2 separate regions of the Homo sapiens genome follow, and region 1 is linked to region 2. Evidence: promoter capture Hi-C in 16 types of primary human blood cells and fetal thymus (Javierre and others, 2016). All regions are on one chromosome and are shown on one strand. The core of a region is centred on a gene start or on the middle of the fragment in contact, and the rest is flanking DNA. Distances in the headings are between cores, read along the strand shown. Region 1 overlaps UBR3 (ubiquitin protein ligase E3 component n-recognin 3). Region 2 holds the start of MYO3B-AS1 (MYO3B antisense RNA 1).

Region 1 (5,509 bases), core at 2,969-5,468, 410 kb before region 2:
TTGGAACAATTTATTAATCTAGGTGCCACATATTTAGTGGCTACTGCTTAAAGCAAACAAAGAAATGAAGTAAAATTAAAAATTGCTTTTTTTATGCTAAATGAAATAGAATAGTTGAAATATTTCATCATGACTATTGGGATCATTTTGAAAATTACATTTATATGTTGTCACTGTAGTATTATATACAAACCAATTTATTTATTTTTTATTTATTTTTATTTTTTTGAGATGGAGTTTCACTTTTGTTGCCCAGGCTGGAGTACAATGGCATGATCTCGGCTCACCGCAACCTCTGCCTCCCGGATTCAAGCGATACATCCGCCTCAGCCTCCCTAGTAGCTGGGATTACAGGCATGCGCTACCATGCCCGGCTAATTTTGTATTTTCAGTAGAGATGGGGTTTCTCCATGTTGGTCAGTCTGGTCTCGAACTCCCGACCTCAGGTGATCCGCCCACCTTGGCCTCCCAAAGTGCTGGGATTACAGGCGTGAACCACCGTGCCTGGCCCAGAAACCAATTTTTTTAAATGCAAAGTTAATTTTATAGCATCTTCATAATCATAGGTACAGCATATTTCTCTGATATATTAATGATAGTTTTCTTATTTTGAAGATTTTTTTTCTTCATTCTATGTAGTATTTGTTTCCTCTAAGATGCGTTTTCTTTTTATTATTATTATTATTATTATACTTTAAGTTCTAGGGTACATGTGCACAATGTGCAGGTTTCTTACATATGTATACATGTGCCACATTGGTGTGCTGCACCCATTAACTCGTCATTTACATTAGGTATATCTCCTAATGCTATCCCTCCCCACTCCCCCCACCCCACAACAGGGCCCGGTGTGTGATGTTCCCCTTCCTGTGTCCAAGTGTTTTCATTGTTCAATTCCCACCTATGAGTGAGAACATGCGGTGTTTGGTTTTCTGTCCTTGCGACAGTTTGGTCAGAATGATGGTTTCCAGCTTCATCCATGTCCGTACAAAGGACATGAACTCATCCTTTTTTATGGCTGCATAGGATTCCACGGTGTATATGTGCCACATTTTCTTAATCCAGTCTATCATTGTTGGACATTTGGGTTGGTTCCAAGTCTTTGCTATTGTGAATGGTGCTGCAATAAACATACATGTGCATGTGTCTTTATAGCAGCATGATTTATAACCCTTTGGGTATATACCCAGTAATAGGATGGCTGGGTCAAATGGTATTTCTAGTTCTAGATCCTTGAGGAATCACCACACTGACTTCCACAATGGTTGAACTAGTTAGTGTAAAAGTGTTCCTACTTCTCCACATCCTCTCCAGCACCTGTTGTTTCCTGACTTTTTAATGATCGCCATTCTAACTGGTGTGAGATGGTATCTAATTGTGGTTTTGATTTGCATTTCTCTGATGGCCAGTGATGATGAGCATTTTTTCATATGTCTGTTGGCTGCATAAATGTCTTCTTTTGAGAAGTGTCTGTTCGTATCCTTCGCCCACTTTTTGATGGGGTTGTTTGATTTTTCCTTGTAAATTTGTTTAAGTTCTTTGTAGATTCTGGATATTAGCCCTTTGTCAGATGAGTAGATTGCAAAAATTTTCTCCCATTCTGTAAGTTGCCTGTTCACTCTGATGGTAGTTTCTTTTGCAGTGCAGAAACTCTTTAGTTTGATTAGATCCCATTTGTCAATTTTGGCTTTTGTTGCCATTGCTTTTGGTGTTTTAGACATGAAGTTCTTGCCCATGCCTGTGTCCGGAATGGTATTGCCCAGGTTTTCCTCTAGGGTTTTTATGGTTTTAGGTCTGACATTTAAGTCTTTAATCCATCTAAGATGCATTTTCTATTGTTCAGTCTCTAGCTTTCAAGTTAGAGGCATTCCCCAGATGTCTGACAATGTTGACTGCTTGTTATTAAGAGTTCTTGAGTGCATTGGTGGAACTAGTAGATTCTGAATTTTAATATAGGGTGATTTGGGTAGGCAGGTTGGTTGAGAAGCACTTGTGTTAGATCTTTCTTTTTGGCCTGGTCAGATTCCTCAGGGAAGTATCCTCAGATATTGCCCAGAAGGAAATGGTATTGGTGCTATTATTCTGTAAACGGATTGAGAGACAAGGCCTAGGGACTCTGAGTCAAATACTTATATGATGATTTTAATCTCTCATCCTCATATCCTCAATTGTACTTGCTATTTGATCCTCCCCAGAGATGAGTTCTGTAGCCAAAATTCTGTTTCAGTGGTGGAAAGGCAGTTTTCATCCGATCCTCCTTATTTTAGCCCCTTGCCTTCCCACCTCCATTTATAAAGGTATCAGGTGCTGCCAATTTTGTTGCTCATTTTTTAATTGCACTTTTTATTATTGAGTTTTAAGACCTCTTCATATATTCTGAATACTAGACTTATCAGTTATATGATTTGCAAATATTTTCTTTCTCCTTTTTTTTTTTTTTTGAGACACTGTCACTCTGTTGCCCAGGCTGGTGGCATGATCACAGTTCTCTGCAGCCTTGGGCCTTCCCAGGCTCATGTGGTCCTGATTGGCTTCCCGAGTAGCTGGGACTACAGACATACGCCATCACACATGGCTAATTTTTGAATTTTTTGTAGAGATGGGGTCTCTACATGTGTTGCCCAGGCTGGTTTGATCTCTGCAGCTTAAGTGATCTGCCTGCCTCAGCCTCCCAAAGTGTTAGGATAACAGGCATGAGCCATTGTGCCCGGTCTGTAAATGTTTTCTGTCATTCTGTGGATTGTCTTTTTCACTTACTTGAAAGTGTTCTTTGGGTCACAAATGTTTTAAATTTTGATGAATTCCAATTTTTTTCTTTAATTTTCCTGTTTGTTGCCTAAATTAATTTAATTTTCCTTCTGTTGCCTAAATCAAGGTCACAGATACCTAAACCTATGTTTTTCCCCAAGAGTTTTATGCCTAAAAATATAAAACTAAAGCTGAAGCTTTTACATCAAATTCTCTGGTCGATTTTGAGTTAGTTTTTATGTATGCTGTGAGGTAGTGGTCCAACTTAATTCTTATTCATGTGGTGTTCCTTTGAGTTTTAATAGACCTTGCCTGTTCAACAACCTGGGCCTCATACATCTTTTTTTGTGGATAACTTAAAACTACACATTCACTTTCTTTAAAGGTTTTAGGCTTGCTTAGGTTATTTCTTGAAAAAAATTACTAAGTTATATTTTTCTAAGAAATCTTTATTTTACGTTTATATTTAATGATTAAAAAAATCTTCCTTGTGTTTTTATTCCTATTATTTATTTGTGTTTGCTATTTCTTATTTTGAATTAGGTGTCATATGAGATGATTATCAGTTTTACTATGTTTTCTAAGAACCAAGTTTTGATTGTCTCTCTCCTCCCACCCCCATTTTCTATTTCATTCTTATTCTTTTTTCCTCTATTACTTATTAACTTTTTTTTTTTTTTGAGATGGAGTCTCGCCCTGTTGCCCAGGCTGGAGTGCAGTGGCAGGATCTCTGCTCACTGCAAGCTCCATCTCCCAGGTTCATGCCATTCTCCTGCCTCAGCCTCCTGAGTAGCTGGGACTACAGGCGCCTGCCACCACGCCCGGCTAATTTTTTGTATTTTTTTTTTTTTTAGTAGAGACAGGCCTTCACCATGTTAGCCAGGATGGTCTCGATCTCCTGACCTCGTGATCCGCCCACCTCAGTCTCCCAAAGTGCTGGGATTACAGGTGTGAGCCATCGTGCCAGGCCTTTTTTTTTCCTTTTTTGAGACAGTCTCACTCTGTCTTCCAGGCTGGTGTGTAGTGGTGCAATCTTGGCTCACTGTAGCCTTTAACTCCTGGGCTCAAGCGATCTTCCCACCTCAGCCTCCTGAGTAGCTGGGATTACAGGGGTGCATCACCATGCTTGGCTAATTTTTGTATTTTTTGTAAAGACAGGGTTTCATCATGTTGCCCAGGCTGGTCTTGAACTACTGAGCTCAAAGTGATCTGCTTGCCTTGGCCTCCCAAAGTGCTGAGATTACAGGTGTGAGCCACTATGCCAGGCCATTATTATCTTCTTTCAATTTAGTTTGGATTGTCTTTTTTCCTTTTCTTGGATACTTGGTCATTGCTGTTGTTTCAGTGCATTTGGTTTTCATTTTTAATTACTCCCTTTTAATTTTTATTGTTATAGATTTTAAAAATATTTTTAATTGATATATCTTAGCCTTAACATTACCTTTTACACAGTATTTGAAGATACTTCTCTGATAGTTTCATACATGTATACAATGTGTAATGATCAAATCAGGGAAATTGGGATATTCATCACCTCAAACATTTATCTTCTTTTTATGTTGGGAACATTACAGTTCTTCTAGCTATTTTGAAATATAAAATACATTATTATTAACTATAATTTGGATGCTTAGTTGTTGATTTTTTAACAAATGTATGGATTTTAAGGCTATGTATTTCCTTCTAAGTACTACTTTAGTTGTGGCCCACAACTTTTTCTATATAGTTTAGGCTTTAAATTTTTCTGTTATGATTTTTAATGGCTTCTGAATTTCTAAGAGCATAGCGCCTTAAAATGTCTGCATGTCTGGAGTTTTGAGTTATATTTTTAAGTTGGTTTCTAGTTTTATTTGCTATGTGACAAGTGAATGTGGTTCATGTATCTGTTTTTTTGATATTTTTGAGATTTACTTTGCATTCTACATAGTCAATTTTTATAAATATTCTAAGCGCTGTTAAAATTATGTGTATTCACTACTTGTTGCATGTTGCCTTTGCCCATGCTTCTTAATTGTGTTGTTAAAAATCTTAAAACTGTTTACCAATGTTTTTCTGGCTCTCATTTAGATAAGTATGTTAATATCCTTTACTATGGTTGTAGATTTGTCGTTTTCTCTGTGTAATTCCCTCAAAATTTGCCTTTTGTATTATGAGGCTGCTATTACAGTTGTCCCCTCTTATCTGTGGTTTAGTTTTCTGTACTTTCAGTTACCTGTAGCCAATGGCTGTCCGAAAATATTAAATGGAAAATTCCAGAAATAAGTAATTTATAGATTTTAAATTATATGCCATTATAAGCAGGATGATGAATTCTTGTGCCATCCTGCTCTGTCCCACCTGGAATATGGATTGTTCCTTAGTCCAGTGTACCATGCTGTATATACTACTCACTTGTTAGTTATTGACATTGTCTGCTCCTGACATCCAGCCATCACATTGTCATGGCCTGATGATTCAGGATCACCTGAAGCAGATATTCCTCCTTCTGATGACATGTTGTTAGAAGGTCATTAGTAGCCCGATACCATGTCACAGTGCTTACCATCATTCACTTCACTTCATCTCATCACATAGGCATTTTATCATCTCATATCATCCCAAGAATAACAGGAGTGAGTATAGTACAATGGTCCCCCTCTTATCCTCAGGACATGTTCCAAGACCCACAGTGGATGCCTGAAATGAGGGATGGTATCCAAACCCTATATATACTATGTTTTTCTCCTACAATACATACCTATGATAAAGCTTAATTTATAAA
Region 2 (6,214 bases), core at 206-2,705:
AGTGATACTCTTAAAATTATGCACCTCATGGCCGGGTGTGGTGGCTCATGCCTATAATCTCAGCACTTTGGGAGGCCGAGGTGGGTGGATCACTTGAGGTCAGGAGTTTGAGACCAGCCTGGCCAACATGGTGAAACCCTGTCTTTACTAAAAATGCAAAAATTAGCCGGGCATGGTAGTGGGCACCTGTAATCCCAGCTACTTGGGAGGCTGAGGCAGGAGATCACTGGAATCTGGGAGGTGGATGTTGCAGTGAGCTGAGATTGCACCACTGCACTCCAGCCTGAGCGATGGAATGAGACCCTGTCTCAAAAAAAAAAAAAAAAGAAAGAAAGAAAAAAATTATGCACCTCATATAATGGACCTAGATAGAAGTTGGATGTTAGAACTCATGATCTTTGGACAGTCTCTCCAAACGACAAACATAATGATAAGGAAGAGAATAAGGGGTGGCAAAAGTGGTCAGATACACCTTCCTCTCTCAATATACACACAGTATCCCAGAACACAACTGAACATTTTTTTTTCCTTTGAGATAGTGTCTTGCTCTGTTGCCCAGGCTGGATTGCAGTGGCGCGATCTCGGCTCATTGCAATCTCAACCTCCCAGGGTGAAGCAATCCTCTTCCCTCAGCCTCCCAAGTAGCTGGGATTACAGGCACGTGCACACCCAGCTAATTTTCTGTATGTTTAGTAGAGACTGGGTTTTGCCATGTTGCCCAGGCTGATCTCCAACTTGTGGGCTCAAGTGATCTGCCCGCCTCGACCTCCCAAAAACCGAAATTTTAACTGTAAGAAGAAACATGATAGGATTGTTAAATTGATAGCTACGTGGTTAGCTGTGGATTCTTTTTTGATTGCCTTAAATACATGAAAAGAATGTCAGAATGAATCCTTCATGGCAATCTCAGTGGTTATTCCTCTCCAAAAGCTTCTGCCCATTCCTTTTCATCTCTGCCTTCCCTTATTTCTCACCACCAGCTCCTTTATCACGTGGTTTAGAATTCCACAGAAAGATTGAAGAGAAGCCACTTCTGAACTCTGGATTATAAGAAACATCACCATTTGAAGGCTGCCTTAGGGAACTATGCAGAGATGATGGGTAAAAATCGAGATGTGGAAAAGTTCAAGGCCTGTGAATGCAACTTTACTTCCTCACTGTAAAATAAAATTAGGTTAAAATCAAGGTGTTGGCAGGGGGAAAAAAGATTAGGGGCACGTCTCACAGATGTTAATTTTGGCCACGTACCTTAATGTCTTAATACATTAATATGATACATACATTAATAGCTTAATAGCTTCACACTAATAGATCTTACTAAAGAAAAATGATTTAGGATGGTAGTAAGCAGAAGAAATGATTGGATAAATTTGAATTTGAAGGATTTTTGCCTTTAGATGTTTCCGTGGAAGATATTTTCTGTAAAGGTGATGCCTTAGGTTTATACTTTTCCAAACACAGGATATTGCTAGGCCACATATATAAAGAAAAGGCCAAAAACATATTAAGAAGGAAGGAAGGGAGAAAAGAAAAAAGGGAGGAAGGAAGAAGGAAGGCAGGAAGGAAGGGAAGGCAGGGAGGGAGGAAGGCAGGAAGGAAGGAAGTTAGTTATATTCAGAATGTTCATTGTGATGGATGAGAATGGAATGCTCATGAAGTGCTCAGCTGGGCTGAAGTCACAGGTCCGCAGGTATCAAGAGCAGTGGTGACTCCTGTGAGTAAAAAGACTAACAGGGCTCCAAACAAGATAGGATTCAGAGTTGAGACTCCTACTTGAAGCCAGTAAATGAGGTGGTTCATTTAGGCTGATAAAAAGCGTCTGGGAAAAAGAATGGGGTAGGGGAGAGGTTATGTGATCCTGTGCTCTAACTGTAGCAATTTCTTCCACATATTCTCCATCGTCTGGGGTGATGCTGACCATCACCCAGGACTATGACTTTTAGCCACCTTCTGGCTGAGGATGGTAGAAGGATATATAAGCAGCCAGGCCTGTGGCTGCCACAGTCATAGGCTCTTCCATATGCCCAATAAGACCATGGGACAGCAGCACAAAATGCCATTCTACAACCTGGCTCTGGGCTAGAGACCCAGAGAGCCAAGCAGACATAACCATAACATTACTAGAATAGGAGGGTGGGCAAAGGGGAAGTGAGAGGGAGAGAGAAAACAAAATCCTCTTCCTCCTCACCCTTTCAGTGAGCCTGCCAACTGAAATTTCAGAACACCTGAATAAACCTAAAGCTGAGGAAGACAACCCACCAAAACAACAAATGAAGCATAAATTCGTTTGAAATGAAACTAAATTCATGGAATAGTCTGAAGGATTAATGTAGATAACTACTAACTGTAAGAAGGAAAACAATTTGGGATAAAATACGTAAAAACTAACTCTAATCATACAGTTGGGGCAGGGACAGCATCCAGTGTGTGATTTAGGCATGCACAAGTTGTTTTTCTTTGTTTGGTTTTTTGTTGTTGTTTTTGAGATGGAGTCTCGCTCCGTCGCCCAGGCTAGAGTGCAGTGGCATGATCTCGGCTCACTGCAACCTCCGCCTCCCAGGTTCAAGCGATCCTCTTGCCTCAGCCTCCTGAGTAGCTGGGGTTGCAGGTGCATGCCACAACACCTGGCTGATTTTTGTATTTTTAGTAGAGACGGGGTTTCACCGTGTTGGCCAGACTGGTCTCGAACTCCTGACCTCAGGTGACCCGCCCTCCTTGGTCTCCCAAAATGCTGAGATTACAGGTGTGAGCCACCGTGCCCGGCCTAGGCACGCATAGGTTTTTGTACTCAGAAAGGGGATAGAACTACAGGAAAATTGACAGTTAAGCAAACATGTTAAACTAATTTGTAGTTAAGCAAATATGTTAAAACTATAGAAAAACAATGTCTAGTTTCTAAACCAAAAGAAGAAAGGGTCTACAGAAAATTTAATCAATCTAACAGAAGACAGGAAATGAGGAAAAAAAGCATTGGAGGAAAAGGTTGGTAAAAAGAGATTTCTATCTATATGACCATGCTTTTGAATTATCAGGCAGTCAGTTTTTCCCAAGATTTCCAGTACATAAGCAGTGGTGTACTGGTAAATGTTTAAACTGGCTGGTTGCGGATAGGGGTGGGAGTGGGGCTGATTTTCAGTGTTTACTCGTTTTCATGGTGTAAATATTCCCACCATAGCCAATTTCAAGCTATCAATCTGATATCAACCAGCTCACAGAATTCCTGAAAATGTTAACAGTAATGTCTAGTAAGCTTATGCATGCTGGTTCTAGGATACTATTGTTTACTCGTTTGGGATAGACAGGATTTCCTCATAGTCTTCCTACTGCATATAACTTTTGACAATAAAATAAAAAGATTCAACAATGAGATACCACTACATACCTATTGGAATGACCAAAATCTGGAACACTGACAATACCAAATGCTGCCAAGGATGTGGAGCAAAAGGAACTCTCCTTCATTTTTGGTGGGAATGCAAATGGTATAGCCACTTTGGAAGACAGTTTGCTAATTTCTTACAAAAGTAAACATATGCTTACCGTAGGGTCTAGCAATCGCCCTTTTTAATATTTACCTAAAGGAATTGAAAACTTATATACACATAAAAATCTGCACATGAATGTTTATCACAGTTTTATTTACAAGTGCCAAAACTTGGAAATCACCAAGATGTCCTTCAGTAGGTGAATGGATGAGTAAACTCTGGTATATCCAGACAATGGAACATTATTCACTGCTAAAAAGAAATCAGCTATCAAGCCATGAAAAGACATGGAGGAATCTTAAATTCATGTTACCATGTGAAAGAAACCAATCTGAAGAGTCTATATACTGTAGGATTCCAATTACGTGACATTCTGGAAAAGGCAAAACCATGGAGACAGTATGGAGATCAGTAGTTGTCAGGAGTTGTGGGCAGGGAGGGAGGGGAAGAACAGGTGGAACCCACAGGATTTTTCGGGCAGTGAAAATACTCTGTATAATACTCTACGAATGGATTACATGTCATTATAAATTTGCCCAAACCTATAGAATGTACAACACTGAGAGTGAACTTTAATGTAAACCATGGACTCTGGGTAATTACGATGTGTCAGTATGAGTTCCTCAATTGTAACAAATGTACAGGTGGGGGATGTTGACAGTGGAGAGGCTGTGCGTGTAGGGGGGCCGGGGTATATGGGAAATCTCTGTACCTTTCTCTCAATTTTGCTGTGAACTTAAAACTGTTGTAAAAATAAAGTCTTTAATAAAATAAAACAAATTCTCTGCATGCTACTTTTCTAACTGAAATCATAAGGGAATTTATTATGAAAACAGGACTTGGTGGCATTCTCTTATTAGAGTATTCATCATATGGTTATGGAAGGCTAGTAATTTATGATCCTTGCTAGCAAAGCCAGATCAATAAAGAGATAAATGTCCTCAGCACAATAGAATTTATATCATCCACATGATAATTGACCACTGTGTCACACATTCAATCATTCATCGCATTATCTGATATAACTAGCAGGAAGGGTAATATGTCTATGATTTATTATTAATGCATACTAGTATGAAATTCGTGATCCATCTAACCTGTTACCTGTCCTTGGCAACATAGTATGTACAGTTGTCTACTTCCAGTAATAGGATCCCGCAGAAAGAATCAGACAACCCTGTTTAATGCTAGGCATTGCCTGTTGAATTGGAAGAGATCCAAGAAGTGCCTGAGCTAGTGTTACTCCCTCTCTTCTTTTCTCTTCTCTTCCCTTTCTCCTTGTCATCAGTTCTGGTTCCTTTTTTTTGTTCTGTTTTGTTTTTCTTTCCCCAGAGCACAGTGGCCTGTCTAGAGCAGAGATGGGTGGGTAAGTGGTCCTAAAAGATCCTTTGATGTCACTGATTTGCTGCTATGAGTATATTTTGTGACAGTCATTCTGTATCACCTATCTATGCATGTCAGTGAATTAACAGTGGCTTCAAGCTCAGGACACACCATAATACCAGGGCGGGGAAACAGCAGGTCCCCTGGGGAAACAGAATGGAGAAAATTAGAAAGGAAAACAGAAAGATAACCATTCAGAAACCCATGCATAGAGTTAGTTCCCTAACAATAGGAGTCAAAAGTATTCCAAACTGTCTCCCCCTCCCCCTTCTTTCCCAACCTCTTGGGAACATGTGTTGGTTGCCTGCAACGTCTGTGCTTTACTTTGCAAGGGTTAATTAGATGGCCTATTATTCAGCAAATTAAAGGCTTGGTTGCCTGAGTTCCTTTCAGAAAGGATTAGGGTCTCTGATGAGGCTTTGATGTAATAGATGGAGCTGTTCTGCTCCATCTTGTTAATGGAGGAGTTTTAAGGACTCCCCAGACTCTATTTGGCCGTCAGTGTCTTTATTCATTCCCTTTCCTAAAGAAGAAAAATATTTTATCTTGCAAAAATTCAGTGCTTGAACAAGGCACTGGATTGACATCCTGGGGGTGGGGTGGGGGGTGGAGGGTGAAGTGTTCATTTCTTGTCTAAAATCACACAGAAGCAGCACTTCCTGGCTTCCTTGGGTGGCCACTTCCTCTGCAAAAACCATCTCTCCAAAAAAGCAGCAGGAGCAGTAATTTAGGCCTTGTGGTTCATTGTCCTTTGAAGCTTTTTTGCTAAGAAGTTGGGCAGGAGAGATGACAGGTGACAGGCATGGTAGTGGTTTGTGTCCTCAGGAACATGAACCAAGACAGCCAATAACTGCAAAATCCTACCTTGCATAAAATGTGTGCACCTACATATTATCTGACAAGATTTTTTTCCAGACTTTTTAGTGTGGTTAAGTTGTTATGAAAATCTGGCTTAGTTCATTTTCTCCAATTTGATGTTCACATAATTGGCAGTCAGCCAGAGAAGTGTTTAGTCAATTTTAGTCTTTACCAAAAGAACAAACATTAAGGGAAGGGTACAAAATGTGGGTAGACACAATGCCAGTACGACTATTGCAGCTCTAGGTCATTATCCTGCCTCTTTATCTAATCTCCTAGCCCCACTGTGTATTATGGCCTGACATTTTAGCTGGAGTAATTATTGTCATCATTTAGGGAGCAAGTCAGCTGTCCTTTTGTTGCCAACTCCCACTTGTGTGATGCTCCAGTCTTATTCCTGCCCTTCCCCAACTCACATTGTTGGGATTGAATCGCTCCCTCCTTTGAGTTACTTTTGATTCATGGGCTCAACATTTTCAGCAATCTTC

What was found. Contacts are between HindIII fragments. The CHiCAGO score rates a contact against its expected background, and 5 or more counts as called.
Region 1: a contact is called between a fragment that was not itself captured here and the fragment with the promoter of MYO3B-AS1 in region 2, in 2 of 17 cell types (megakaryocytes and endothelial precursors). The highest score is 7.0, in megakaryocytes.

The regions. Positions count from the first base shown.
Region 1 is chr2:169,935,849-169,941,357 of GRCh38, forward strand. All of the region lies in intron 19 of UBR3 (ubiquitin protein ligase E3 component n-recognin 3), which reads left to right. Among named protein-coding and RNA genes, the nearest start is that of UBR3, 110 kb to the left of the region's middle. The HindIII fragment of the contact is 2,551 bases long and covers 2,944-5,494 here.
Region 2 is chr2:170,349,488-170,355,701 of GRCh38, forward strand. It overlaps MYO3B-AS1 (MYO3B antisense RNA 1), which reads right to left and starts at 1,456. Exons shown (of 4, transcript NR_110576.1): 1 at 1,392-1,456. The region is part of intron 8 of MYO3B (myosin IIIB); the gene reads left to right. RefSeq lists an enhancer at 4,602-5,455. The HindIII fragment of the contact is 2,320 bases long and covers 929-3,248 here.